Regions from separate parts of the Homo sapiens genome. Here regions 1, 2, 3, 4 and 5 are each linked to region 6. Evidence: promoter capture Hi-C in 16 types of primary human blood cells and fetal thymus (Javierre and others, 2016). All regions are on one chromosome and are shown on one strand. The core of a region is centred on a gene start or on the middle of the fragment in contact, and the rest is flanking DNA. Distances in the headings are between cores, read along the strand shown.

Evidence for each region. Contacts are between HindIII fragments. The CHiCAGO score rates a contact against its expected background, and 5 or more counts as called.
Region 1: a fragment that was not itself captured here is called in contact with the fragment with the promoter of TLR5 in region 6 in 12 of 17 cell types (endothelial precursors, M1 macrophages, naive CD4 T cells and 9 more); the score reaches 14.6 in endothelial precursors.
Region 2: a contact is called between a fragment that was not itself captured here and the fragment with the promoter of TLR5 in region 6, in 15 of 17 cell types (naive CD8 T cells, total CD8 T cells, megakaryocytes and 12 more). The highest score is 21.1, in naive CD8 T cells.
Region 3: a fragment that was not itself captured here is called in contact with the fragment with the promoter of TLR5 in region 6 in 1 of 17 cell types (total B cells); the score reaches 6.2 in total B cells.
Region 4: a fragment that was not itself captured here is called in contact with the fragment with the promoter of TLR5 in region 6 in 2 of 17 cell types (naive CD4 T cells and non-activated CD4 T cells); the score reaches 5.8 in naive CD4 T cells.
Region 5: a contact is called between a fragment that was not itself captured here and the fragment with the promoter of TLR5 in region 6, in 1 of 17 cell types (naive CD8 T cells). The highest score is 7.6, in naive CD8 T cells.

The regions. Positions count from the first base shown.
Region 1 is chr1:223,669,400-223,672,099 of GRCh38, forward strand. No RefSeq gene overlaps it. Among named protein-coding and RNA genes, the nearest start is that of CAPN8, 5.0 kb to the left of the region's middle. The HindIII fragment of the contact is 2,651 bases long and covers 9-2,659 here.
Region 2 is chr1:223,686,347-223,689,046 of GRCh38, forward strand. All of the region lies in intron 2 of LOC105373281 (a long non-coding RNA gene), which reads right to left. Among named protein-coding and RNA genes, the nearest start is that of CAPN8, 22 kb to the left of the region's middle. The HindIII fragment of the contact is 2,221 bases long and covers 147-2,367 here.
Region 3 is chr1:222,455,814-222,458,513 of GRCh38, forward strand. No RefSeq gene overlaps it. Among named protein-coding and RNA genes, the nearest start is that of TRT-TGT2-1, 7.8 kb to the right of the region's middle. The HindIII fragment of the contact is 5,503 bases long and covers 1-2,700 here.
Region 4 is chr1:223,716,446-223,719,145 of GRCh38, forward strand. It overlaps CAPN2 (calpain 2), which reads left to right. Exons shown (of 21, transcript NM_001748.5): 2 at 1,317-1,386. Among named protein-coding and RNA genes, the nearest start is that of CAPN2, 5.3 kb to the left of the region's middle. RefSeq lists enhancers at 1,979-2,148, 2,314-2,700. The HindIII fragment of the contact is 1,455 bases long and covers 615-2,069 here.
Region 5 is chr1:223,746,125-223,748,881 of GRCh38, forward strand. CAPN2 (calpain 2) reads left to right here. Exons shown (of 21, transcript NM_001748.5): 5 at 873-1,041. Among named protein-coding and RNA genes, the nearest start is that of CAPN2, 35 kb to the left of the region's middle. RefSeq lists a silencer at 1,983-2,277. The HindIII fragment of the contact is 6,197 bases long and covers 1-2,757 here.
Region 6 is chr1:223,141,917-223,144,616 of GRCh38, forward strand. TLR5 (toll like receptor 5) reads right to left here and starts at 1,332. Exons shown (of 6, transcript NM_003268.6): 1 at 1,280-1,332. LOC124904522 (a long non-coding RNA gene) reads left to right here and starts at 1,439. Exons shown (of 2, transcript XR_007066895.1): 1 at 1,439-1,682. RefSeq lists a silencer at 1,121-1,490. The HindIII fragment of the contact is 3,848 bases long and covers 1-2,700 here.

The DNA.
Region 1 (2,700 bases), core at 84-2,583, 530 kb after region 6:
GTTTGCAAAGCTTGTTGTCTTGCATAACTATAACTTCAGGGAAAAGATGGGTGCAAGCTAACTGCAGAATTCTCTCTCCTGGGCCTGACAGTTTCAGAATGCTAAGGCAAGCAGGGGTTGAATCCAGTGTCAAGAGGATTACAGAGTTCTCATACATTGCTGGTGGGAATGTAAAATGGTGCCGCTGTTTTGGAAAGCAGTCCAGCAGTTTCTCAAAATGCTAAACATAGAATTACACAGTAACTCTGAGTAACATCCCACTTCAAGGATTGAAAGAGAATTGAAAGCATATGTCTACACAAAAACGTGTACATAAATGCCCATAGGAGCATTATTCATAATAGCCAAAAAGTGGAAACAACCTAAATGCCCATCGATGGACAAATGGATAAACAAAATGTGGTATATGCATATGATGGAATATTATTCAGCCATAAAAGGAGTCCATAAAAGGAGCGAGATACTGTTACATGCTACAACATAGACGGATCTTAAAGACATGCAAAGTAAAAGAAGCGAATGACAAAAGGCCATACATTGTATAATTCCAGTTTTATGAAATGCCTAGAATTGCAAAGCCATAGGGAAAGAAAGCAGAGTCGTGGTTGCCAAGGATTGGGAAGTGGGGCTGACTCTAATAGTTACAAGGTTTCTTTTTTGGGGTGATGAAATTATTATGGAATGAGATGGTGGTGATAGTTGCACAACCAAAAGTCACATTTTAGGCCAGGCACAGTGGCTTACACCTGCAATCCCAGCACTTTGTCAAGCTGAGCTGGGAGCATCGCTTGAGCCCAGGAGGTTGAGGCTGCCGTGGGCTATGGTTGCACCACTGTACTCTCATCTGGATGAGCAAGCGAGACCTGTCTCAAATAAATAAATAAATATCACACTTTAAATGTACACTTTGGCGATGTTTATGTTATGTGAGTTATATCTCAATTTTAAAATTGAAAAGGAGAAAAAAAGGCATTACAGAGGGGAAGGCTGGCTATGATACAAGCATTGGTAGGTGGCCTCTAAGGAAGAGATTGGCTTCCCATCTGCCCAGGATATCAAGTGCCCAGCACATGCAAACAGTTCTAGAGCTGTAAGAGCAAACCCTACCTAACCAGAAGCCTGGATGAGTTGAGATGTGTGGGCTCATTCTCTCTCCAGGTCTGCAGGATCGCTCATGGCATCTTAGGGGTCACAGCTCAGGCCTTCATCCTGGCAGGAAAGGGCTCAGTCAAGGCCAGTTGGGAGGCCAGCTGAGACTGCCCCCTAGAGGCCTACAGATCCTGTTGACCTGGTATGACTAAGTAATGTGGCAAAAACTCACATTTGAATAGAATGCAAGGTCTACATAGCACTTTCCTGCCATGGCTGCTTAGAGATTCACGACAAGTCTGTAAGAAAGATCATATTGTCAGGCTACCCCAAGGTCACTCAAGTAGCAAACTTGAGCCCAAGTCTTCTGATTTTAATTCCCATGCTCTTTTTAAGGCACGCTACCCACACATACCAACAGGGAGATGCGACCTGGGCAGTAGGCTGTGAGATGTGATGCCTAAAAGGAAGAAATCCAATGACTCACTCAGCCCTCCAATCTGCAAGCCATCTCTGTGCCTCACTCAGATCTGCAAGCCTCACTCAGATCTGCAAGCCGTCTCTGTGCCAACACTCCACTGGGCAGGGGTCAATGCTCGTAGGAGGATAAAAGGACAAATAGAGGCCAGACGCATTTGTTCAGGCCTGCAATCCCAGCACTTTGGGAGGACAAGGCAGGCAGATGACTTGAGCCCAGCAGTTCCAGACCAGCCTGAGCAACGTGGTGAAACCCCATCTCTATAAAAATTTCAAAAAATTAGCCAGGCATGGTGGCAGGCACCTGTAATACCAGCTACTCAAGAGACTGAGGCAGAAGAATTGCTTGAACCCAGGAGGTGGAGGTTTCAGAGAGCTGAGATCGCGCCACTGCACTCTGGCCTAGGTGACAGAGCAAGACCTTGTCTCAAGAAAAAGAAAAAAGAAAAGAAAAGAAAAAATCGAAAGACAAATAGACACCATGCCTGCCCACAAAGAACTTCCATGCAGTGGAAAGACCAGGCAATGCTCAAAGAAAGAGTGGTTGATTCTGAGGATGATGAGTGATAAGGAGGGCTTCATGGAAGAGGTGGCCTTCCAGTTAGATCTGTAGGATAAGGTGCTTGAAGGATGATGATTTTGAAAGAAGGCAGTGTAAAAAGGGCATTGGAGTCAAGGGGAACAGCAAGAAAATGGCAAGAAGGAACAGCTCTGCACACAGTGCCAACAGAATATTAATTATCTAGAATGAGATCATTCTAGATCACTCACTCCTGGAGTGAGGCAGGAGGCAAACAACAAGAGGAAAAGACACTGGGGGCCTTGAATGCCATCCTAAATGGATGTGGACTTCTTCTCTATAGTTAGGGTGCAGTTGCTCTGAAACAAGCAAGAATCGATGATGGCTTAATTCAGGTAGTGGCACTGGGGCTGGGCAGGTAGGGAGAGGAGTTCCCAAGTTTACCTCCTCTGTGAGTCCCAGAGGCTGGGGATGAGTGTGGAGGAAGGGAAGACACAGCCAGGATACCTCTTGTGATCTTGTGATTTAATAAGAAATAAGTATTTTGGTCTTTGTCCTCAGTTCCTGGCACAAAGCTTCTAAAATCTTTGTAATTTCCTGGGTGATAAATGTGC
Region 2 (2,700 bases), core at 7-2,506, 540 kb after region 6:
GTGTTGGGTGTCCTGCACACAGGACTCAGCAGCCCTGCCATGTATCTATCTGCCCAACTCTTTCCCATGGAGTTCATCTTGTGGGCCACTTCCAAATTATAGATCCACAGGCAAGTTTCACAGCTCTGTCGCTGTCACCTGTGGCAAGCTTCTCATAGTGCCTCTGTGGCTTAATGTCATGAGCCCCTCCATTGTGAGCATTCTGTTTAGGGTCCTGCACCATCACAGCCTGGCAATGAGCTTCAGATGTTTTGCCATAACCTTAGATTTAAGTCATCAAGCAGCAGGACCAAGACCTATCATGCATTTACTTTTGTTTTTGGCTTAATTTGAGTTGGTTTTTTTCCTTGTACAAAAAGAATCTCTGTACACAGACTCCTATTAATTTTTTTAATTAATAGTTTTATTTTTCAGAGCAGTTTTAGCTTTACAAAAAATTGAGAAGAAAGTAAGATGTTCACACACACACAGCTTCCCAATTATTAATGTCTCACACTAGTGAGGTACATTTGTTAAAATCGATGAACCTATGTTGACATGTCATTATCACTGTAGTTTACTTTAGGGTTCCCTCTTAGTATGGTATATTTTATGGGTTTTGACAAATATATGATAATATGTATCCACCATTATAGTATCAGACAGAGTATTTTCACTGCCCTAAAAATCCTCTGTGCTTTGCCTGTTCATCTACCCCTCACCAAACACCCAGAAATCTTTTTTTTTTACTGTCTCCATTGCTCTGCCTTTTCCAGAATGTCATATATTTGGAATTATATGTTATGTAGCCTTTTCAGACGGACTAGTGATATGGTTTGGCTGTGTCCCCACCCAAATCTCATCTTGAATTGTAGCTCCCACAATTCCCACATGTTGTGGGAGGGACCCGGTGGGAGGTAATTGAATCATGGGGAAAAATGATTTGAGCATCTATCATCACAAACAACCCCATTCTATCTCTAATAATGACTTTTGCGGGTCTTTGCAGTGCTGTTCTCATGATAGTGAATCAGTCTCACAAGATCTAATGGTTTTAAAAATGGGAGTTTCCCCGCACAAGGTCTCTCTTGTCTGCTGCCATATAAGATGTGCCTTCACCTTCTGCAATGATTGTGAGGCCTCCCCAGCCATGTGAAACTGTGAGTCAATTAAACCTCTTTTTCTTTATAAATTACCCACTCTCAGACATGTCTTTTTCAGCAGCATGAAAATGGACTAATACAACTTATTTCACTTAGTAATATGTATTTAAGTTTCTTCAATGTCCTTTCATAACTTGATGGCTCCTTCCTTTCTTGCTTTCTTTTTTTTAATTTTAACTATACAATAAAGCACTAAGCTAAAGAAATTAAACTATGGAATATCTATCTGCTGGCTGGTGGGGAAAATGTGAGGAGCCTGGAGCTTCCTGGAAACACACAATTTCCTCCACAATCTTCGCTGACCTTCCCTTGAGTTATCCCTCTTCCTTTTTAACATTCCTCTTGATTTGAGCCTCTATCATCACAAACAACCTCATTCTAACTCTAATAATGATTTTTGCCTTAAAGTATTATGTCTGATTTTAATATAGTTATGCCAGCTTCCTTCTCATACTGTTCACATAGTATATCTTTTTCCATCATTTTATTTTCAACCTTTCTATATCTGTATCTTTATGCATCATTCTGTTAATATATATCAATCCATCAGTGACTGATTCTCTGATTCCCTAATGTTTAAGCAATTTCCTTTTTTTTTTTTTTTTCTTTTTGAGACAGGGTCTTGCTCTGTCACCCAGGCTGGAGTGCAGTGGCACGATGATGTCTCACTGCAGCCTGAACGTCCCAGGCTCAAGTGATCCTCCCACCTCAGCCTCCCAAGTAGCTGGGATTACAGGCACACATTACCATACCAGGTTAATTTTTTTTTAATTTTTTGTATAGACAGAGTCTCACTATGTTGCCCAGCTGGTCTCAAACTCCTGGCCTCAAGCGATCCTCCCACCTTCACCTCAAAGTGCTGGAATTACAGGCGTGAGTCACCACACGAGGTCAATCTACTATTCTTGACCTCAGCTATTGGCTGTGATATATTATCATATATAGAGAGCTGGATTTGGTTTGCTACTGTTTTCTTCAGAAGAGAAAGCAGGATGTTGCTCAGCCTGGGAGGGTCATGCCCTTGGTTGAGTTAGCTCTCTGCAACTGAAACAAACTCTAAAGGATTTGAGACCTGGAAACTTTCTGCTAATCCCACCTCCCAAAGTTGGGGCAGTTCACATCCAATGACTGATAGAAGTAAGGTATAAAGACACAGACATTTTGGCTTAATCTAGCATCTCTGATGGGCCGTGTATGGTCCAGAACATCCCATAGGAATGGCCAAAGCTTTGTCACAATTGCATCACATTTTGACTTTTCCCTCTGCCCAAGACTGCTTCCTCCTCCTCTCATCCACGGATGTTGATTCCTAATAAATACTCTGTACACCAAGCACAGTCTCGGCATCTACTCCTGGAAAACCAGCAACAAGGTCAGCAGGGCTAGCTAGCTTCATGGGCAGCAACCTATGCAGTCATAAGGGCCCTGCTCCAAGAGGGGCCCCATGCTTAGGTTAATACTCTTGTCAACTAACGAGTGGTGAGGTTCATAAATTTTGAAATAAGAGGTTTATTTCTCATGAAGTGTTGCAATCTGCAAGGTGGCCATTCCTACAGGC
Region 3 (2,700 bases), core at 128-2,627, 690 kb before region 6:
TCTGTGGTGATTGAGAGTAGACATGGAGCTGTTTGCAACCCCCTAAACACATTGCCCCCTTGCCACACAATAGCAAAAATTGAGAATTATCATCCTGTCACCACCCAGTGGCTCTGGGCCCTCAAGCTCCCAATTACTTACAGATATCTACAGCAGAGTCTCTTGACCTTCGCACCATCGGGTCAGATAGGTCTTTGTTGTTGGGAGGCTGCCTGCGCATTATGAGCATTTAGTAGTATCCTTGGCCTCTACCCACTGGTGTCACTGGCACCCCACCACTGTCCCCAAACCTCCACCCCTGTTATAACAATCAAAATACCTATAGACATTGCCAAATGTTTCCTGGGGGTACAAAATCACCTCTGCTTAAGAACCACCTATCTGGAAGGCAAATACATGGAATATAAGAAGAACAACAACAGTAATAATTACTAGTACTGCTATCATTTAAAAGGTAAAATTGCACCACCAGCTAATGGATAAGTCATCGGCTTCCTAAAAGGCACTAATTACGTGCTGAGACTTTTATGGCCTTATCTTATTTAGTCTTCACAACCAAGAAACCAGTCTGTGTTGACAAAACATTCACATTACAAGGAAACTGAAGATCAGAGATGCCAAGTAACTTGGCCAAGGGTGCAGAGCTGTCAGTGGCTGAACTACCATTTGAAACCAGACTTTCCTGACTGTAAAATCTGAGCCTGTCACCACCTCCAGATCCTGAGGTCACATAGCACAGATAGTTCTGGAACAGTCCTCACTCTCAAAAGTTCTGCCAGAGTATGCTAGCACTATTCAAATAATATATCTAGATTTAGATTTAAAGACATAAAGACTGTAGCTATCCTCTGTAAGAAATTGACCCAAAGTGTGACTGCTGTGGAGGTTTTCCAATAGGGGAATAGAGCGGGCCAGAGTCTTGGCCAGTAATTGACTGTATGGCCTTTATTTGGGGTCAGTTACTTAAGCTCTTGAAGTCTCTTCTTGTTCATATATAAGATAAAAAATTTTGTCAGAGCAATGGTACTCAACTCTGGCTGCACATTAAAATCACTTGGGTAGCTTTTTGCCATGGTTTGGATCTGTGTCCCCACCCAAATCTCATGTAATCCCCAATGTTGGAGGTGGGGCCTGGTGTGAGGTGGGATTGGATCATGGGGGCAGATTTCCCCCTTGGTACTGTCCTCAAGATACTGAGTTCTCATGAGATCTGGTTGTTTAAAAGTATGTGGCACCTCCCTTCTCTTTCTCTTTTGCTCCTGCTCCTACCGTGAAGACATATCTGCTCCCCATTTGCCTTCTGCCATAATTGTAAGTTTCCTGAGGTCTTCCCAGAAGCCAAGCAGATGCCAGCATTGTGCTTCCTGTACAGTCTGTGGAACCATGAGCCAATTAAACCTCTTTTCTTTATAAATTACCCAATCTTGGGTGTTTGTTTGTGGCAATATGAGAATAGCCTAATACAGAAAATTGGTACCAGGAGTAGGATATTGCTATAAAGATACCCAAAAATGTGAAAGCAACTTTGAAACTGGGAAATAGGCAGAGGTTGGAAGAATGTGGAGGGCTAGAAGACAGGAAGTTGAGGGAAGGTTTGGAACATCCTAGAGAGTTGTTTAATGGTTGTGATTAAAATGCTGACAGTGACGTGGACAGTGAAGTCCAGCCTGAAGATGTCTCAGATGGAAATGAGGAACTTATTGGGAATGAGTAAAGGTAACCTTTGCTATGCCTTATCAGACAGCTTAGCTGCATTATGCCCCTGCTCTAGAGATCTGTGGGACTTTGAACTTGAGAGTGGTAATTTAGGATATCTGGCAGAAGAAATTTCTAAGCAGTAAAGTGTTCAAGATGTGACCTGGCTGCTTCTAACAGCCTATGCTCATATGTATGAGCAAAGAAATGACCTGAAGTTGGAACTGATATTTAAATGGGAAACAGAGCATAAAAGTTTGGAAAATTTGCAGCTTGGCTGTGTGGTAGAAAAGAAAAGCCCGTTTTCAGGGAGGAATTTAAGCAGGCTGCAGAAATTTGCATAAATATAAAGGATCCAAGTGCTAATAGCCAAGGCAATGGAGAAAAGGCCTCAAAGGCATTTCAGAGACCTTTGCAGCAGCCCCTCCCATCATAGGCCCAGGGACCTAGGAGGAAAGAATGCTTTTATGGGTTAGGCCCGGGGACTCTGCTGCCCTATGCAGCCTCAGGACACTGCTCTCCACATCCCAGCCACTCCAACTTCAGGCATGGCTCAAAGGGATATAGTACAGGCCACTGCTTCAGAGGGTGCAAGTCATAAGCCTTGGCAATTTCCATGTGATATTAAGCCTGCAGGTGCACAGAGTGCAAGGATTGAGGCTTGGGAGCCTCCACCTAGATTTCAGAGGATATATAGAAAAGCCTGGATGTCCAGGCAGAAGCCTGCAGCAGGGGCAGAAGCCTCATGGAGAACCTCTACTAGGGCAGTATGAAGGAGAAATGTTGAGTTGGAGCCTCCACAAAGAGTCCCCACTGGGGTACTGCTTAGTGGAGCTGCACAAAGAGAGCCACCGTCCTCCAGACCCCAGAATGTTAGAGCCACCAACAGCTTGCACTATGTGCCTGGAAAAGCCACAGTCAATGCCACCCTGTGAGAGCAACCATGGAGGCTGAACCCTGCAAAGTCATAGAGGCAGAGCTGCCCAAGGCCTGGGGAGAGCACTC
Region 4 (2,700 bases), core at 92-2,591, 570 kb after region 6:
TCTGATTCTCTCTGCCATCCCCAAAACTGACAGGAGCAGAGAGAAACAAGGCAGAGGCATGAAGGGAATGTCCTCTGCGGCAGATGGTGCTTCCGGAAGAGCTCCCACAATCTGAGCTAGAATGAACAGGGGCTAGATCCAAGTCTCATATAGGCATACTTCTGCTTGACAGAGTGGGCATGCCGAGGGCCGTTGGGTGGAGGCAGGCGTGTGCAACCCAAGCAGACATGAGACGCAGCTCCTTCAAGGCAAGGTTGCCTGAGCCCAGAGAGGCTCAAATTTGTGCCCCAACTTCCTCTGTGGCTTTTGGGTGGGGCTCTTCAGAATCGAAACACACTCAGAGGGCTGCTGAAAGGGCTAAGAAGTGTTCAAGGTTGGCTTCCATCAGGCTGCTCATGACAATGGCCCCTGAGGTTTTAACACCCTTGAACGCTTGGTACTAAATCAATTAGAGGCAGGGCAGGAGCAGAAAGAGTTGGCGCATTTGATCAGTAAGTTCCAATGCCAGTGCTGTCTATTATCTGTGAACTGTGTTAACTTTGGACACGTCACTTCACCTTTTTGAGCTGTTTCCTCGTCTGTAAAAGGGGGATAATACCCATTCCATGAGGTAAAGCTTTGAGCACAGTCTCTGATGTAAGCAGGTACAGAATATATAGATGCTGTAAGTTTCATGGTCCCATGGAAGAATTCAAAAGGGTTAGATCCCGCCTGCCCTCAAAAGGGTATGTGTTAGGAAATCAGAGTAATACCTAAGTAGTAAATTGCAGAGTCCAGAGACTCTGGGACTCAGACTTGAAGGGATGAGTGAGGATTGGACTAGGACGACTTCACGGAGGAGGTGACAATGAGCCTCAAGGTATGATGCAATATGGAAAAGGAGGGAAGAGAGTGGGAAAGGAAGGAATTTCATGCAAGCAAAACAACTTGCATGCAGTAACAGAGGAGAGAGGATGCTAACCCAGTGGATAGGGTGGCTCTAGAGTGTGGATGGTCTCCACGTCTGGCAGAAAAGGCTGGACTTGCTGCTGTGGCCCCCGGGACACAGCACAATGAAGGAGGCTCCAGGCAGTCCAGAGTGTGCAGGGTCCAATGCCTGCCCTTCTCAGACAGGACCACCCATCCACCCATCAGGGCCCAGGGAGCAGGGGTCAGAAGGACCTCATGACACAGAGTTCTGACTGTGATGACACACTTTCCCCAGAGGGGAGGGGAAGGGGAGAAGGGGTTAGAAGACCCCACTGAGAATGGAGGCATCCTAGCTGCAGAAGCACCTGGCTGGTAGGCTAACAGCACTTTGTGGGTCTCGTTCCCAGGAGATCTGCGCTGACCCCCAGTTTATCATTGGAGGAGCCACCCGCACAGACATCTGCCAAGGAGCCCTGGGTAAGTGATAGATTCAGAGCAAGCTGGGGGATCTTGTCTGTAAGGCTGTGGGTGGAAGAGATGAGGGACAACCTGTGGCTTCTCTCCCTTCCCAAGCAGCTTGGCAATTTCTATTTGCAGAGAAGCTCCATGGAATTTCTTGGCCCTAGCGGGCAATGATTCTACCCTCAGCCCCATGCTGGGGCACACAAATGAGGCCTCCTGTGTCCCCTGCACAGGGCTAGTTGCTGAGGTTACAGAGATGCTGCCACTAGGAGGACCAGGGGGCTTCTGGATGTCAGCCACCCCTTGGTATGCACCTCCTGGAGCCAGCATTACCAGTGGTTCACGAAATACACTCTGGGCAGAGGACTAGGTGGGAGGACTCCCCCAGACCAATGACAGCACTGAGACATCAGTTCTGTGAGGTTCAGGAACCAGGGAAGGTGACTCAGTGTAAAGAAAGAGGAAACTCTAATGCTCGCTGCTGAAGGAAGTTATAGTACCAGGGCATTCTCAGTGTTTGCAAGACAAGCTCACCATGGTATCACAGTTGTAACGCTCATTTAAGTAAAATGAACTGGAGTAGCTGAATTGTCCAAAACCTTGCTTTCTGGAGCCGAGTTCAGATTTGTTTCTGGAGATAGTCCTTGTTGAAGGTTTCAACCCACAGGGTTCTCCACCTTTAGTATGAAAATTCCCAAAGCTTCTAGGAAGTCCCAGCAATGGGGCCTGGCGCTGTTATCTAAGATTCTCATAGAATCTGCCCTCAATGTTCTTTTACTCATAATAAATGTGGGCCTATAATTACTAGAGCAGATTATTTGCTCTGATAAACCAAAAATCTATTTTCTGCCATCAGCCTCAGCTGGCTGGCTCCCCAGACAAGTTCATCAGTAGCAAAATCAGTCAACTAGAGTTGTACCTCCTGTCCTCACCCACCTAGCAGAGGTTCTGTTACTCATATACTCCTAATACCAGCTGATAACAGCTAATATGTATCTCTAAGGCACCGTGATTATTCCCATTTTATAGATGAGGATGCAGAGGTCTTCCTACAGCTAAAGTGGTGGCTGGTACCCCTGACCCCAGGGTATGTTTAATTCCTGAGCTAGACTCCCTAAGACGGGACCTGGAAAATTTTCTAGCCCTGAGGAATGTCAGAGCATCATGTGAATCATTAGGACAGACAGACTGTGAGGAAGAACATGAGCTGGGCGGGAAAGTTTGTCTGAGCTCAGGCTCTGCAGATTCCTGAGATGCCAGAGCACATTCTTACCTGCAGAAAACACTCCTTTCATTTCTTTTCTTCTCGCCCCACAAAAGACAGAAGAT
Region 5 (2,757 bases), core at 90-2,589, 600 kb after region 6:
GAGCAGCAAGTGGATTTCTGTTTCTTACAGTCCCAATCCAGGAAGGAGGAGTCAGCTGTGAGAACCTGGAGCCTGACGGATGCTTCTAAGTCCCACTGCTCAATACTGGGGTCAGGGAAGCCACCGGACTCCAGCATCAGCAGTCAGGAGCACTAAGCCCTTGCCAACACCGTGCCTGTTTCTCAGAGAAACTGCTTCCATTATTGAATGGTTGTCCTTTTTTAAGCTATCAATGCCAAACGACCCATTAGTAGACCTCCCCTTTCTTGTCAGGATGTAGAAGGAATCAATACAGGAGGTTCATCCAGAAAATCACTAAGGTCCTTCCGACTCTAAGGTTCTACGAGAATCTTTTTTTTTTTTTTTTTTTTTAATACGGAGCCTCATTCTGTCACCCAGGCTGGAGTGAGCGGCATGATCTCAGCTCACTGCAATTTCCACGTTCTGAGTTTCAGCAATTCTTTTGCCTCAGCCTCCCAAGTAGCTGGGACTACAGGCATGCACCACCATGCCCAGCTAATTTTTTTGTATTTTTAGTAGAGATGGTGTTTTGCCATGTTGGCCAGGCTGGTCTTGAACTCCTGACCTCAAGTGATCCGCCCACCTCGGCCTCCCAGAGTGCTGGGATTACAGGCATGAGCTACCGCGCCCGGCCTGAGATTTTCTTTAAAACACAAAATACCAGGGAAATGGTAACTGTGGACATTATACCTTGCCTTCCTGAGCACCCCGAGCTGGGAACAAGGCCAAGGAGAATGTGAGCAGGGGGTCCCTGGAGCATCAAATCTAGACGGTACTAGGGGGTGGCTGTTTGAGAGATTATAGCATCAGTAGTGTCAAGGGTAGCGGCAGCGTCTAATCCCCTCTTGTAGGATCAACGGATGCTATGAAGCGCTATCAGGGGGTGCCACCACTGAGGGCTTCGAAGACTTCACCGGAGGCATTGCTGAGTGGTATGAGTTGAAGAAGCCCCCTCCCAACCTGTTCAAGATCATCCAGAAAGCTCTGCAAAAAGGCTCTCTCCTTGGCTGCTCCATCGACGTAAGTCCAGGCTGCCTTCCCTAGCCTCACCCCATCTGCTCTTGCTGAAGGGAGGCTCCCACAGTGCCCAAGGGAACCCACTGCTCCTGTGTACAACGTAATGCAGCCCTCGTCCACGTAGGGGCCAAAGGAAAACCTCCCTCCACCCTCTGAAGGTCCGCTGAAAATCAACTGGCAAAAGGAAGACTAATACAAGAAATGGCATACAAATGTATGAATGTGGACAGGGGAGAATCACAAGAGATTTCCCTACCACGCATTGGGATACAGAGGGTTATATTCCCTTCCTCTTAGGGGAAGGGAGATGGGGAGGTGCGGATGATTTTAGGGATGTCGTAAATGATTTTTAGGGGAATTCATTGGGCTTAAAGAACATAAATGGTCTGGGATAAAGTCTGTTGGGCCTGCAGAGCAGACAGTGGTTTGTGACAAGTCTGTCTAGCCATGTTGACAGACTTGTCTTTCTTCCTGCAATATGAGTTCAGTTCATAATAACTCATGGAAAGGACCAGACGTCATTGTTTTCATCTTTGGCAGGTCCAGACTTTAGGCAGGTGAGGGAACTTCAGAGAATAGCTTCCTCCTGTGCTTTGGGGGAGAGTGGATCGAGAGACAGAAGGAAAGGGGAGGTCAGAGAGATCTTGAGGCTTCTTCAGTTTAGCATTTCAAAGTGCCATCTCTTAGAGGTATTGGTTTCTGAGCACCCCAGTGTCTACCATTATTGCTCATCACCTGGAAGCCAAGGGTTGCTAGGCAAAAGTCAAGCTGTCTGGGGTGTAATGGATGGGGTGATGGTGCCTCCAGCCCTTCTGTCTTCAGTCCACTTCCCACTCTTAGCCTGCTCTGAATCACCCCCACCCCTCTGACCACAGGTTCCCTGGGAGCCCCTGCCACCTGCTGCCCCTGCCACCTTCCCCTCCATCTGCAGTGCTGTGCAGCCTTCCCCTGCACTCTTGCAGAGCTAATAGGCCCGTGGGAGACTTCGGAAGGAAGAGGAGGAAAGATTTCCTCATAATAGCCTTGCTGGCAACGCTCACCAGGGGATGGGAGGTGGGCACTGTGCCCAGGAGCCTTGGAGCAAAGGCTGTGCCCAACCTCTGAGCCCTGTCCCATCCAGGTTCTGGTCTCTGCGGGGGACAGAGATAAGAAGCCCTGGCTTTTGGAGCCAAAATCTAGGTCAGACTCCCTAGGCAGGAATTCTCAAAGTTTATCAGCAGAACACGTTGAGGCAGAAGACCCTTTCTGCTCCAGCCCTTCTTCCCAGGCTCAACCTTCATCAGAATAGATAGGGGAAAGGAGAGGCTGTGAGGCGTTCTTAAAACAGAAGCAAATTCTGACTCAGACCGGAATAAACAACCGTCCTAGTATAAACCCTACAGCTGGGCTGGGCCAGACCACGGAGCATGGGCTGGTGGTGGGGCGAGGGTGTGCTCAGTGTCCCTGGGCCACTCAAGGCTGTCTGGGTATCAGCCCTGCGCCATCGAGGACCCCCTCCGGCCCTCTCTCGGCCGTGCGCCCTTTCCCTGCGCCATCGAGGACCCCCTCCAGCCCTCTCTCGGCCGTGCGCCCTTTCCCGCCCTTCCCAGCCTGCAGAAATCCGTGGATGCGCTATTCACACGGGAATGCCTGTGCTCGTTCCGCGAGAGGGTTGCATTCCGCCTTTTCTCTGGTATTCTCGGCGTTCAAGCATTTGAACGGGGTAGGAAAGGTTCTCCA
Region 6 (2,700 bases), core at 82-2,581:
CTCTGGGACCTCCCCTGGAATTTCCCCACAATCCAGTAACTGAATAATTAGCATCCAGCCCCACAGAACTTCTCCCAGGGCCCTGCTCCAGGGCTTCCCTTCTGACTGGCTGTGCATGGCACACTGGGAATTGTTTTCTGCCCACAAGAACAAGGGTGAACTGAGTCAAGGAGTCCAAGAGATCTTGGACGCACTTCTCAGAATTCGGAGGGGCTGGGTAAATGCAGGAGAAAATTGATGAAACCACATTGGCCCTGCAAGAGCCTGACTGCTCCTGCACGGTAGCTACCCCTAGCATTAGCGGGGAGTCACCAATGCCTCTTCCAGGCACTGAGCAAGAGGGCGGCATTACAGATGCACTTGCCGTCCAAACAGATCATCTCATTGACTAGGTGACTGCTCAGCAACAGTATCTGAAGGACACTAGGGTTACTCTGCTTGTTTGCAGTTCACGGTGCTGGACGGATGTGTTCCCAACACTAGGTAACAACACCGCTCTCCCTCCTCCGGGAGAAAGCCGCAGCCGTCGATTCCCACCCAACAGGGCCTCAGCGCCTTCCCAGGGCAGCACCCTCACTCCTGCAACCACCAATCACCCAAGCCACAGCATGGTCCCAGACCCACCCTCGCCCCTTAGGAAATGGCTTTCCAATTGTGTTTTCACAGGAGCATGGCCACTGGGCAATGATCTTCACAGGCAGGCTTTTTTTTCCCCCTCTCAACATAAAGGCCAGCAATATTTACCACGGAGTCTTGGCCAGTGTGCACTGCCTGGTGCTGTGGGGTGGGGTGTTTAGGGCCTTTTGTTGAGCAGCTCAGTGACTTTCTGGGATTTCCATGGCCCTGCTGGAGATGGCCCTCTGTCTCCCTTTTCCAAGGAAGAAAGTGACTGGGGACAAGCCACCTGCCTCTTCCACAGGGTGGGGGCGAGAGTGACAGCGAGACAGCACAAGAAGGACCCGCTCTGTTTCAAAGCGAGGATGTGAGTGACTTCGTCTGTGCCGAGGTCTCTTCGTCTCCAACCTGCCGGGCACAGGGCACCCACATGACACGCTCACCCCGTCCCTGGGCCGAGGGACCCCACGTCTCGCGGGTGCCGCGGGGCAGAGAGCGCCGCCTAGTGAGGCGGCGCGAGTTGGACATAGACTGGAAAATAGACCCGGACAGCCCGGGAGGAGGGCGGAGAGGAGTCCGACCTCCGCAGGCAGCCGCGTCCCCGCCCCGCGCTGCCTACGACTTAGGGCCCCCGGCCCATCCCCTGCCGCTGCAGGGCGCTCACCTCTGGGACGCCTCCCCGCGCCGCCTGCGCCACGGTTGGCTCCTCCCGGACGCAAAAGCGGCGCCCTCGCTCGGGCTCCTGAAAACCTCGCGGCCCCGCCCACGGAAGGGCCCGCCCACCTGCCAGGCCACGCCCCCGTCTCGGCCACGCCGCAGCTCAGGGTTTTCTCTGAGGGCTGTGAGAGGCTAGGCCCGGGGAGAGGAGGCAGAGGTTATGCTCCGGTCTCTGCAGACTTCCACAGTGTCTATCGAGATCACACATGCCAGCATTGCCCCCTCCCATCCTCTCCTCATCGTACGGAGGAGGAAACCCAGGCCGAAGACCTGAAGTGTCCAAAAGCACAGCCAGGCCAAAGAGAAGCACCATCCCATGTTCTCCCACTCCCACTCCGGTGCTTCTTCAGGTAGGCTAAACTTCAGGCTAAAATGTGAAGATCACAGTGACACATTCCTGTCAGCAGAATCTGCTGCATATGTTTGGGAGCTGGGGTGTTTGGAAGCTCCGATTTTGTGTGGAGGACCCAAGAGAGAAGACAGACCCTTCCTGTCCTATAAGAACAGTGCTCCTCCTGCCCTAACTTCTCTTTTCCTTTTTCTAACTCCCTCTGCCTATGGGGTTTGCTGAAACTTTCAGGAAAAGGGACGTGTCAAAAGAAAGAAATGGACACCCCAGAGGCCGTGCAACCACAGGGTTAAAAGGAGGTAGCCTTATGAGAAAGCGGTGGAGTGGCTTTCTGGGGTGAAACCCAGTTCAAGGACAGAAATAGCACTGTCTTGAGTTAAGACTGGTGGTGGGGGAAGCCTGGGGGTGGGGCGCAGACTGCAGGCGGAGGAGCTCCCTGCCACCTGCCACTTGGGGTGTAATCACAGAGCAGCTGACACTCCCCACTCACTGCCTGGAGGAGCTTGGCGGTGGGATCGGGCAAGGCGGGAAAGATAGGTGTAAAACAAAGCCTGGCACTTAATTACAGTGCAAAGATCTCATTATAGAGTCTTCTCAGCTCCCCTCCTCGGCTGGCAGCTTGAAGCCTGAGTGACAAATTGCCTAGGTAGGTCTCCAAGGGCTGTATGTAGAGGGATGAAACCACCTCCCTGCCCACCCGAACCCCACTGTGGGGGCTGTGGAGAGGGAGGGGATGTTCACACTCTGGCATATGCAGGGGGCAGTGGGGAAGTCTGTAAGGGCACCTAGAAAGCAGTAAGAGCTGGGAGCCACAGTGGCCCTAGCCTGACATAAATAACACCTTGCTGGGGCAAGCCCAGTGTTCCCTCTTTTGGTAGTGGAACCGAGGGCAAGGTTGGGGACAGCTTGACGTGTGGCACTGTTTACTCTGCATCATAGGTGGATGCTGCAAGACCAGCAGGGGCCTGGCTTATCATGCAACTTTGTGAATATGTGGGAGAGAGGAGCCTTCCAGACGG